Linked DNA regions of Homo sapiens: regions 1 and 3 are each linked to region 2. Evidence: promoter capture Hi-C in human tissues and cell types (Jung and others, 2019). All regions are on one chromosome and are shown on one strand. The core of a region is centred on a gene start or on the middle of the fragment in contact, and the rest is flanking DNA. Distances in the headings are between cores, read along the strand shown. Region 1 has its middle 210 kb from the start of LINC02226. Region 2 holds the start of SEMA5A (semaphorin 5A). Region 3 holds the start of LINC02226 (long intergenic non-protein coding RNA 2226).

Region 1 (3,950 bases), core at 364-2,863, 1.3 Mb before region 2:
GGCTGAGGCAGGAGTGTTGCTTGAACCCGGGAGGCAGAGGTTGTAGTGAGCCAAGACTGCGCCATTGAACTCCAGCCTGGGCAACAAGAACAAAACTCCGTCTCAAATAAAATAAAATAACAGTGAATACTACAACCCGATTTTCAAGGTGAGCACTGAATCTGGCACTGGAGGGGAGGGAACAATGTGTGAGGGATTATCATTAAATTGGACATACACTAATGGTCCATTTCAAGCAGCAGAAATTAATAAAAATCCTCTGAAATTTTTCTTAGTTAAAATTATACATTATTTTTAAAGAAAACAAAATCTATCCACGGGTTTTTCTCCAAGAGTAGTGCATATTGGAAACCTGAAATTCTGCTTAGCAGTGTTTTGTCTTTAGAGATGTTTTCCATAGGGAGAAGCCTAAATCTAACTTCTGGGATGTCAGATACATCCTTATTTATACAAAGCGTGTGGTTCATGAAGACAGAAGACATCTGTTTCACTTTATCCTAAGGCATTGGTTAGGGAATGCATTGTCTGGAGAATCGAGGGAGAGGCAGAGTCTTTATTTCATGGACACACTCTCATGATCTCATGACGTGAAAAGGTCACAGGCACTCAGCTCTCAGGGCCCTGTGCCACACCCAGAACCCAGATATCCCCTTGGAACTGGAAGATCACGTGGGGTCAGTCTTTCTGCTCCGGTGGAGATGGTGCCTCTGAGTTCCAGGGTACTTTCAATTAGAATAATATTTAAGGCATTTTCAGAGACCCACAGAGTCCTGCGTAGTGCCTGATAGAGAAGAGATTCACATCCTTGGTGGGATTCCAGAGGGTCAGCTTAGGAGAGAAGCTAGGAAATTTTACTCTGGATTTATCTGAAATTATTCAAATGTCAGTACTGCTGAAGATTAGAAAATAAATTGATGACATTACGGGCTGTGTATCAAGATTGATATTCTGGCATTATAATCTCCAATACCAACAGGTGGAGTAGTTGCTACACATTGGTTGATTTTTAAAGCTGATAGAGTAAAAATATTATGCTGCTATCGCTAATGTGGTGAAGAAAATGTGGGCATTGGTGACAATTTCTTGAAATCATCTTGTTTTTACATTCTGTGGCAAGTTCAGTCAATCACTTATCTATATCACTATAGCACCCCAGACCAAAGCAGTTGTCCAGGATGGTGACTGCCTTCCAGGAAGTACCACGACCTGAAGCCAAGTGGAGCTTCACAGGTCTTTGTTTTTAGCTGGATCACAGGTGGCTTTAATAATACTATAGCAAAAATAATCTCAAAACAGCTTTGAGCAATTCAGTGACAAAAATCCCCTTTATTACCAAATTCCATAACAATTCTCTCAAAATATGATTCAGTCCTTTCTCATTCCTATCATATAAGGAAATAAATAAAACAACATAAAAACATGAAGTCTTATTTTGAATCAGCCCTGTAACGCCCTTCCACTTCTTATATAAGATGCTATCTGAGGCCATGAAAATCATTTTTTATTGAGACAAAATGTAATAAGAAGTGTTGCCATGTTTGTCTGAACTCTCCATGTTTCCCTACATAACGACATGTGTTTTAATTCCCCCTCTGTGAAGCTATAAAGTCTCTTAGAATAATTCACTCAATATATCAGTAATTCTACCAATCCTCAAAGCCCACATACACGAGGGGCTAATTTTAGGTTAATTGTACTTCGTGTTGTGTGTAATGGCTTGTAGAAGAGAGTAGGGGCCTCTGTTGAGCACGCCAACTGTGCTGTGACCACATCTCCAGCTTTGCAGCCCTTCCCAGTGAAGAGAGCAGCAGGGACTGTGTCCTGCTCTTACATGAAGAAAATCATGAAATGTGCTCCCATGAGGCAGCTCTCTATAGGGATGAGGTGATGCTGGAGAATGCATCTCAGAAGTGACAGCAAAATGAGATTCTAACATCAGACTCCTGGCTCAGGTAGAAGTTCCACCCTGCCATGGCTGGAGCTTAGGCATCCCCACGGTGGAAAGGAGGTGGAGCGGGGGCAGTGGAGGACAGCAAGTGGTCCCTGCAGACAGCAGATCCTGAGAGATCAGTCTTACATATCAGAATAGTTTCTCCTACTTTCCCATACAGAGGAATGTATGAGCGGGAGGAGAGACACCATAGGATAGCTCCAAAGAGCCATCTTCACATGAAAGGAAACACCAAGGCAGGATAATAAATATTCACTCTCCCTTTCAGTATATTACCTACCCCCACCAATGTTCTCCAGCCTCCCATTCTCTCAACTCACTGGGGTTAAAGTAAAAGCTTGTGGTGACCTGGGATGTGGGCCTCTACCTGCTGTGAAGGGAAGAACAGTCCATCATGACAATCCTACTCTCAACTTCCTAACCTCAATCCCCTGGTGACTACCCTGTTTCCTGGAATATTTCACTTAGGTTTTCCCTGGAAACAGTAGTGGGCAGCATGGATTTGTCCCACACAAGCTCCTGAAATGGGTCTGAAAAATACAATAATTAAAATAACTTCGGACTTATACTGATCCAAAGTTAAAAAAAAATATTATTCTACTTCCCATTCCAAATACCATATTGTCAAAATAGTCCACCAGTGATTCTGTAAAGAGTTCCAATTACAACATTAAGAAACTCAACAATAAAATATATAAAAACATTTCAATGATAAAATTCTGACTTCAAATTTAAATCTTAAACCCCTCCCATTCTTAAAATTTTACAAAGACGTTAAAGTTCAAAGATTAAATCACCTTGAAAGTTAATTTATTTAAGTTAAGATTCATGTGCCTTGCTCCTTCAAGTTAACAGTCTAAAGAAATTAAATTCTAATTTCTTATTCTACTCAGTCTGATATCCAGGGATTTTGCTGCCTTTGTGAAAGTTTAGAAACGTCTTGTGGTAGATGTCTGAATTGTTAGGTCTAATTGGAGGTATTCCTTTTCCATTAAGGATCTTTGTTTCCATTTGCAACTGCCAGTAGCACTCCAGGACTGGCACTGATACTTTAAGCCTGGAACTCCCTAATGTTCTGTGCTCTGTGTTAAACCCACAATTCAGCCACTTTGCATTTTCAAAGGCACAAATACTGTTCTGTCCATCAATTCCTTAAAACCCAGTACACAGAAAAATTATTTCTTTACCCTCATTGCTTTCTTTCCTTGGTCGCACCTGCTCACTAAAGTCTGTATGGCTCACCAGTCTGTTGCTGTCCTGTGTGCAAGAGTATACGGATGAATGATATTGCCCTCATCATTTAAGTCAAGCAATAGCAACTTGCCTCTGGAGCCCTCACCATGTGGCACAGTCACGTCTCTTTTAAAGCCCACACTTACCCAAAGGCCCTAGTGGTGTTTTCTTGAGCTCTCAGCAGCCCTATCTTGGTTTAGTCCAAATAGTCCTCACATCTCTTGTGCTGGTTCAAGTTCTCCAAGAAGTAGACTGCAACACGGGGTGAGATGTGCAAGAGATTTATTGGGAAAATTTTCTACAAGAGTAAAATGGAGCCAGAGTCATATTGATTATTTAGACCCTCAGAAACAGAGTCCGTCATCTAGGAATAGAATTTCAAGGGAGAAGAGGAAGGAATCCAGGATTTAGCTCTTCAACTTCTCCATTTAGAGGTGGAGAAAATGAAGAGGGGCCAGGAGGGTAAGGGGAAAGCCAAAAAAGCAAGAGGGGGTGAAGCCACAGATGCTCAGAGAACATGAGGTTTAGCAGAATCAACTGTGGTGACACAAAAAACAAAAAAAAATGAGTGCTGTATAGCAACATGGAGCATGGTGGTGATTTTGGAAGAGTAGCATTGGATTTTAATGGTGTTGGTCTCATAGAAGCAGTGGTTTTTGAAAACCGGAGATAGAAGATGGGTCTGGAGTCAGCCCAGGGAAGCTAGGAGGACCTCGACCCCTCTTTCTGGCCTAGAGGTGTGTTGGGTATGAGGCAAAAAGAATCC
Region 2 (3,703 bases), core at 534-3,033:
TTAAACAAAGCTCACGTTATCTTCCCTCAATTTCGATTTCTTTCTGAGTAAATGTAACAGTCACAAGGAAGGCAGATGCCCAGACAAGGAAGACTTTACAGCGATCTTTTTCTCTGGAAGAGACCTTTCTAGTTAGAGCATTTATGTCTGGCCACCACCTTTCCTGTCCCCTCTCCTAGCAAGGCTGACAGCTCTCTATAGCCACCAGATCAGCTCCCCCAACCCCCGGCCCCCAAAATGAAATTATTGCAAGATCTGCCTGGTTCTGCTGTTTGTTGCCTGGGACTCCCGCCCACTCGCCCAGGACCCAGCAACTGCCTGTGGCGCCTCGTCCTCCGAGCGCTCGCTCGCAGCGCCCCCTGCCGGGAATCCCGAGGACGCCGCAGGCGCAGGAAAGTTAAATCCCAACTCCGGCCGCGGCATCCTGGTACAAAGCAAGCAAAGGGCGAGGAGGTGAACGCGCTTCCCGCCAAAGCCAGGGGAACAGGGATGTGACCGCTCCAAGCCAGGCACCGGCCGCCGCGGGGAGCGAGCCGGGGGAATCACTCCTCCACGACCGTTCCCACGCACATCTTGGGAGAAACCATTCCCTCTGGAGCCCGATCTGCCCGAAACCCTGGGGTCTGAAACCCTGAGCCGCGGTGTGCAAAATCCGTGGAGCAGCGGAGGGATGCCTGGTGAAAGGGGCTCGCCTAGCTGCAGCGCACCTGGCTGGTGGTTCCCCAGGCCTCTGCATCCCCCGCCTTAGTGTCTTTCATTAACCAAGGCGCTTGGCGGAGTTGAGCCCAAGTCCCATTGCCTCCCGGTTCCCCTGTAAGGAAAGCAGGAAAACCTGCCCAAGCCGGTGGGGCTGCGAGGTGGCCGCTCCCGAACCGCCAAGTCCCGACCTCCGTGTCCCCTGCCCCCGGCTCGCGGCAGTGCGAGCCTGGAGGCGCGCCGGGGGCGGGCACAGACCAGTGTGCGCACCTTTCCGGGTGTTGGGCAGGGGTCCCGTCTCGCCCACCGCGACACTCCGGCTCCTTACCTCTCCATGCTCAGACCTCGGCACAGGCGGGTACACAAACTTCCAGCCCGTGCACTAGCTCAACTGTGGGCGCCCCCGGACTGACGGTCGTCCTAATCCTGTACGCGCAACCCCCGCCCAGGTGCCTGCTGATGGATCCCACCCGAGATCGGCACCACCCACCAGCCGACCGCTGCAGTCCCCGGGTCCCGGCCAGCGGCGCGGCGCGGCGCGGCGCGGTCAGGGGCTCCTGCCAAGGCCACGCAGGAATCGGGCGGGGGTCGCTCACCAGGTGCGAGGAGCGCTGGTGCCAGTCATCCAGCGCCTGGGGGCCAGAGCGGCTCCGAGGATCCTCTTCAGCACCTGGCTAGGGAAGTGGAGGCAGCAGCTGCAGCCGCCCCCTGCCACTTCCCCAGAGCCGCCCCCTACTCGCTGAGTTCCAGAATGGGGGCACCGGCTTGGGGGCCACGAGCACGGTCCCCGAGCGCGCGGCCAACCGGTGGGTGGGCAGGTTCGCGCCCAGCAGAGACGACCCTCGAGGTGGCAAAGTTGGGTGTCCAAGCCAGCTCCGCGGGGCAGTCCTGGGTGGGAGAAGGGAGCGTCCCGGGATGAGCGACACTGGCCGGGCCGCCCCTGCACGGGGAAGGTGGAGGGCCGGGGCTGCAGCGGGCCAAGGGCCGCGGCTGGCCTGAGGCTGCGAAGCCCACCCGCGGCGGGAAAGCAGCGCTCGGGAGCGGGCTCAGGGAGAGCAGCCGCCACCGGCGCCGCCTTCCCGGCAAGTAGATCGGCGCGGGGCGAGCGGGCGCGGAGAGCGCGGGGCGGAGAGCGCTGGGCGGGGAGCGGGGGACAGCCTGGGCCCACCCCCGCCCCGCCCCGCCCCTGCCCCGCCCCCGCCGCCGCGCCGCCTCCTCCTCCTCCTCCTCCCCGCCGGGGTGAAACTCGAGCGCCCCACCCGCGCCTGACCTCCCCGAGCCCCTCCCCGGGCCCCGCCCCTTCCCGGTACAGGACCCCCACCTTCGCTCCTGGGAGCCCCGCTGCACCCCAGGAGTTCCATTCCAGCCTCCCCAGTGCGAGTGCGGCCGAGCGCTGACTTTTGGGGGCTCCCTCCCCCGTCTCACTGGGTCCCTCTGCGGCTCCCCCGCCCGCTGTCCCGGTTCAGACGTGGCTGCACCCCGGAGGGGGGCGCCGGCCGAGACCTGAGACGTGGCGCTCCCTCTCTGCCGGCCTCGGCTTCAGGTACGTGCGGTTCCCTCGGCTAAATCTGGCCCGGGGGATGGGGGGCAGGGGCCGTCTGGTCCTCCGGAACTCGAACTTTGTGATTTTGTTCTTTCTGTGTGACATCCTCATCCGTTCTGAGGGAGAAACTCCTTAAAGAAGACGAGAGAGTCAGTCGTTGCGGGTTCTTGGAGGAGCACTTTGGGGGTGAGACTCCCGGCTAGTTCGGGTCGATTTCAGCGGGATTAAGTCAAGGAAATGAACAAATCTGACGAATCAGGGAGGCCAGAGAAGGCGTCCCCAGGTAGCCACGCTGAGCGTTAAGAGAGAAGTCCCGTATGGTCAAAGTCATTCGTCCAATTCTGTGTCAATTATTCCTTGTTGCACTTTTGCAGGATCCTTGGGCCTTACTAAGTACTCAGGTGAAAAGTTGATAATTGGGAAGCAAGTAAAGTACCTTTGAAGACGTGTATAATTGGACACTTTGTTGCAGTTCTTCAGTTTCTGGAGGAGGCGGTGGGGGGGGAGAGGGAGGGGGTCAGCCTCGCGAAAAGAGCAAATGGTAAAGTTATAGGAGTATAAGGCATAAAACTTGGGTTGGGAGTCCTGACTGGCCTTGAGTGGCCCTTTCCCACTGGATGGGGGTGCGGGACAGTATCTCTGGGCCCTTTTTACTCAGTCTGCGCCTCAGAGGGAGGCTTGAAGGTCCCCTGCATGAGGAAATGTGTGAATTGCCCCCTCCTGACCGCAGTGAGGTAGGGACCCCCGCAAGGACCCACGTTCACACCAGCGCCCTTCCAGCCAGTGGTGGGGTATGGATGGGCCTCGCTGGTCCTGGGCATGGTCCGGTGCGTCCATAAGGGTTCCATTGAGCTCATCCATAAAACAAAGAAGCTATTGCAGGCTGCAGGGTGTCATAGCTCGCACAGTAGCCATGCAGACCTAAGAGGACAATGGAAATACAAATTGCTATCGATGTGTCTTTATTTTCTAGAACTTTTTTTTAAAATAAAAGAATTAAGTGAAAGCAATTCCGAAGGTTTCTATGAAAGCCCAGCCCATCCCCAAATGCCCAGTCTCTGGCACGGGTGATCTGGCTGTCTTGGGTACTCAGGCCTTACTGGGATTTCCTTTAAGACCTCTGGGAGGAAGTGTCAGTAGCTGGGCAGGCCTTCTTGGCAAGCATTCCTCCCTGGGTTGTGGCGGGGGCTCCCGGCCTGCTGTGTGGCAGCTGCAGGCTCCTGGGGACCTGAAGGAAAAGCTTAACCGTTCTCCCTTCCCTTGCTTGGCACTTAGAGCACTAGTTCCATTCCAGACATTCCGATTATCTTGCCTACGTGGCACAGAGGCCTAGGAGCCTCCCTGGGAGGAAGAGGCAGGCCAAGGTCTTGCCTGGCTGCTTCTAGGGGGAAAGATGTAGGGAGGAAGCTGCCTTATGCTTGGATCTGCAGCCTTTGCCTGGACCTGTGGAGCCTACGTGGCCAG
Region 3 (3,667 bases), core at 289-2,788, 1.1 Mb before region 2:
GTTCCCTGAGACACAATGTTAAAACTAGGCCAATTAATAACCCTACAGTGGCCTCTAGGTGTTCAAGTGAAAGGGAGACTTGCAAGTCTCTCACTTTAAATCAAAAGCTTGAAATGATTAAGCTTCGCAAGGAAGGCATGTCAAAAGCTGGATAGGTTGAAAGCTAGGCCTTTTGTGCCAAATGGGTAGCGAAGTTGTGAATGCAAAGGAAACGTTCTTGAAAAAAAATTAAAAGTGCTACCTCAGGGAATATAGGGATAATAAGAAAGTGAAACAGTCTTTCTGCTCATCTGCGGAAAGTTTTAGTGGTCTGGAGAGATTCAAACCAGACATATCATTTCCTTAAGCCAATGTCTAATCCAGGACAAAGCCCTAATTTTCTTCTTTTCTATGATGACTGAGAGACATAAGGAAGCTGCAGAAAAGTTTAAAGCTGGCAGACATTGGCTGATGAGGTTTAAGGAAAGAAGCTGTCTCCATACATAAAAGTGCAATGTGAAGCACCAAGTGCTAGTGTAGACACTGCCACGAGTTATCCAGAAGATCCAGCTAAGATCATTGATAAAGGTGGCTACACTAAACAACAGCTTCTCAGTGTAGGCAAAATAGCCTTATGTGGAATGAGATGCTGTCTAGGACTTCATCTGACATGCTTTATTGTGATATTCACTTTATTGAGGTGGTCTGGAACTGAACCCCCAATATCTCTGACATATGCCTGTAATTTGCAAGGGGGAAAACAACTTTTTGCTATTACATTCAAAATGGATTTTGAAAGAGTCAGTTTTCTTTTTTCTTTCTTTTTTTTTTTTTTTTTTTTTTTGAGACGGAGTCTTGCTCTATCGCTCAGGCTGGAATATAATGGCACAATCTCTGCTCACTGCAACCTTCGCCTCCCGGGTCCAAGCAATTCTGCTGCCTCAGCCTCCCAAGTAGCTGGGACTACAGGCACATGCCACCATGCCCGGCTAATTTTTGTATTTTTAGTAGAGATGGGTTTCACCACATTGGCCAGGCTAGTCTTGAACTCCTGATGTCGTGATCTGCCCACCTCGGCCTGCCAAAGTGCTGGGATTACAGGCGTGAGACACCACCCCTGGCCCAGGAGTCAGTTTTCTATATCACTTGACTTTCTTTGCTCAGAAAGTCCAGCAACATGTTGCTCTAGGTCTTTGTTTAAAAAAATGTTATTGTGCCCAAAGTATTTAAAAATTTCTAAGACTTAGTATCTATTTCCTTATTAGAACTAAGAAAAAGAGAGCTCACAGGTAGTGTCTGATCAAAAACCACAAGCTTGCTGCACACTTGGCCTATTTAGGATTCAAGTTAGAAACTGTCAACTGAGAGATGTTAATTATCTTCTTTTTAAAAGTTGCTTGTAGATCCACTGTTTTAGCCCAGAATATTTCATAAAATGACACTGATACGTTTTGAATATATGTCCCCACCAAATCTCATGCTGAATTTTAATCCCCAGTGTTGGAGGCGGGGGCTGGTGGGAGGTGTTTGGGTCGTGGAGGCAGATCCCTCAGGCTTGGTGCTGACTTCCTGATACTAAGTTCCTGCAAGATCTGGTTGCTGTAAATTGTGGCACCTCCCCACCACTTTTCTCTCTTCCTCCTGCTGGCCTTCCACCATGAATAAAAGCTCCCTGAGGCTTCCCCTGGAAGTCTAACAGATGCCAGCAGCATGCTTGTACAGCCTGCAGAACTGTGAGCCAATTAAACCTCTTTTCTTTATAAACTACCCAGTCTCAGGTATTTCTTTATAGCAATACAAGAATGGACTAATACAGACACATCATTTTTTTGTGTGTGGTAAATTCTTCCAATTTCTCACCTTGCATTCCCAGTGCTGCCCTAACTGGACCTGGGGAGTTTCATCATACTTTCTTCAATACAAAGATTGTGAATACCTATGAACTCTTTTAAGACAATTTGTATTCTGCCATCAGGCTTCCTAAGCTACCTTGTGGATCCACATGCAACAGAATCAGAACTTTCAAAGCAGTCACCAAACATGTAACTGACAACTTAAAAAAAAAAAATTCAAAATGAAATTAACAAGCACCAAGGGTGTTATTATTCTCTTATATTTCTTTTAGCAGCATTCCATCACTATCTGCTTCTTCCACTTCAGAAACCTGCAAAACTGCTGTAGAATATCAAGCAGTTGTTCTAGTGAAGTCAATTATTTTTTAGCTCACTGCAAAACATCTGTTGACCCACGTTTTAGTCTTCTGTTCACTCTCTTCCAAGTATGTACTTGGGAAAACAACAGGACATCAACCAGGCAAGCTCATTACCATTTTCCACAGATAAATCTTTACAGTCGGTGTGAAAAATCTCACCCTGAACTATGGTGGCTGTAGTGAAAAGAACCATGGACAGACACAAGTATGACTTGTGAACATGATTCATAAAGCACCCAGAGCCCCAGTGTGGCAACACCAGATGAATGAAAAAGGTTCTACCATGTTATCAAAATCATGTCATTCTCACTTTCCCTCAACAGTACCTAAATTTTAAAAAGAATATAAGCATAATGATGAAATACTACAAAAGTATCAATTGAGATCACACTGCACTCAATGAAAATTATCCATGTTTATGAAAATAAAGATCTGTATCCAAAAAAATAGCAAAGTGTCCACAATAAATTATAAACACCAGGACATCAGGGACATTGATCTCTATATCCCAAAGCCTAGAAAAGTGCCCAGCACCTAATAACAATACTAACTTTTGAACATTTCACCACGTGCCAGGCACAGTTCTGATATGCTCCATGTTTCAACTTAAGGCTTACAGGCCAGGCTTACAGGCCACCAGTGAATCTATAAAGTTTCAGTTTATATATGAGAACTGAAGCACGGGATTAGATAATATTCCGAGACAACACAAATTAGTAGCAGATGGGTTAAACTCAGGCCGCGCATGTCTAGAATATGCACACTTACATGCTTGTTGAAAAAACTGTGTTGATTAGTATCAAACTAGCTTTAGAAAATAGAAGTTAAAAAAGGCAATAGACTTTGGCAAATTATTTGAGTAAAACGTCAAATGTCAGATATGTCGAGGCATGGGTAGCCTTCTAAGGGGTCACGTCTATGGAAGGAAAAAGTTTGGCTTAACAAATAGGAAAGTGAGAAAAAGAATGAAACAGTAAAATAACAGGATCTCGTGATGGGGAAAAGGCGGCCTGCCCAGACCTAAACGCCTCGCGGCCTCGCAGGCGACGCGGGGATGACTCAGCAGGACAGAAGGGAGGGAAGCTCCAGACGCCACGGCCCTCTTCGAGATGAAAGTACCTCCCATCCTAAGGGACTGGCGTTCCAGGAACAGCTGCGCTGGCTGAGCCGGCTCAGTGAGGCGGAGCGGCCAAGCCTTCAGTCCACTCCCACTCCCCGATGAAAAACCCAAGACCGGGTAGCGCAGCCCCTCCGCGCACGCGTAACACGAGGAGACACCGCCCACACGCCAGACGCGCTGTGATTGGCCCCAGCTACCCTCGGACCGAGATTCCTATTGGTCCCAGGTGTCGAGCATGCGCACTTTGGTCGTGGGCGCGTGTGTGGAATGGGAGGAGGTCGCGCTGTCCATGGGCGTCCTTGGCCTGCGCCACCCAGGTGAGCGCTCCGGAGGCTGCGATCCCCGGGTCCCGACCG

The links. Contacts are between HindIII fragments. The study calls those that stand out against the background at their distance.
Region 1: a fragment that was not itself captured here is called in contact with the fragment with the promoter of SEMA5A in region 2 in 1 of the 25 tissues and cell types used here (dorsolateral prefrontal cortex).
Region 3: a fragment that was not itself captured here is called in contact with the fragment with the promoter of SEMA5A in region 2 in 1 of the 25 tissues and cell types used here (dorsolateral prefrontal cortex).

What each region holds. Positions count from the first base shown.
Region 1 is chr5:8,246,702-8,250,651 of GRCh38, forward strand. No RefSeq gene overlaps it. Among named protein-coding and RNA genes, the nearest start is that of LINC02226, 210 kb to the right of the region's middle. The HindIII fragment of the contact is 5,343 bases long and covers 1-3,950 here.
Region 2 is chr5:9,544,292-9,547,994 of GRCh38, forward strand. SEMA5A (semaphorin 5A) reads right to left here and starts at 1,784. Exons shown (of 23, transcript NM_003966.3): 1 at 1,293-1,784. SNHG18 (small nucleolar RNA host gene 18) reads left to right here and starts at 1,909. Exons shown (of 3, transcript NR_045196.2): 1 at 1,909-2,239. RefSeq lists a silencer at 1,718-1,907. The HindIII fragment of the contact is 8,719 bases long and covers 1-3,703 here.
Region 3 is chr5:8,454,139-8,457,805 of GRCh38, forward strand. It overlaps LINC02226 (long intergenic non-protein coding RNA 2226), which reads right to left and starts at 3,426. Exons shown (of 6, transcript NR_039984.1): 1 at 3,311-3,426. It overlaps MIR4458HG (MIR4458 host gene), which reads left to right and starts at 3,549. Exons shown (of 2, transcript NR_039989.1): 1 at 3,549-3,628. It also overlaps the pseudogene LOC100419318. RefSeq lists an enhancer at 3,139-3,238. The HindIII fragment of the contact is 4,185 bases long and covers 1-3,631 here.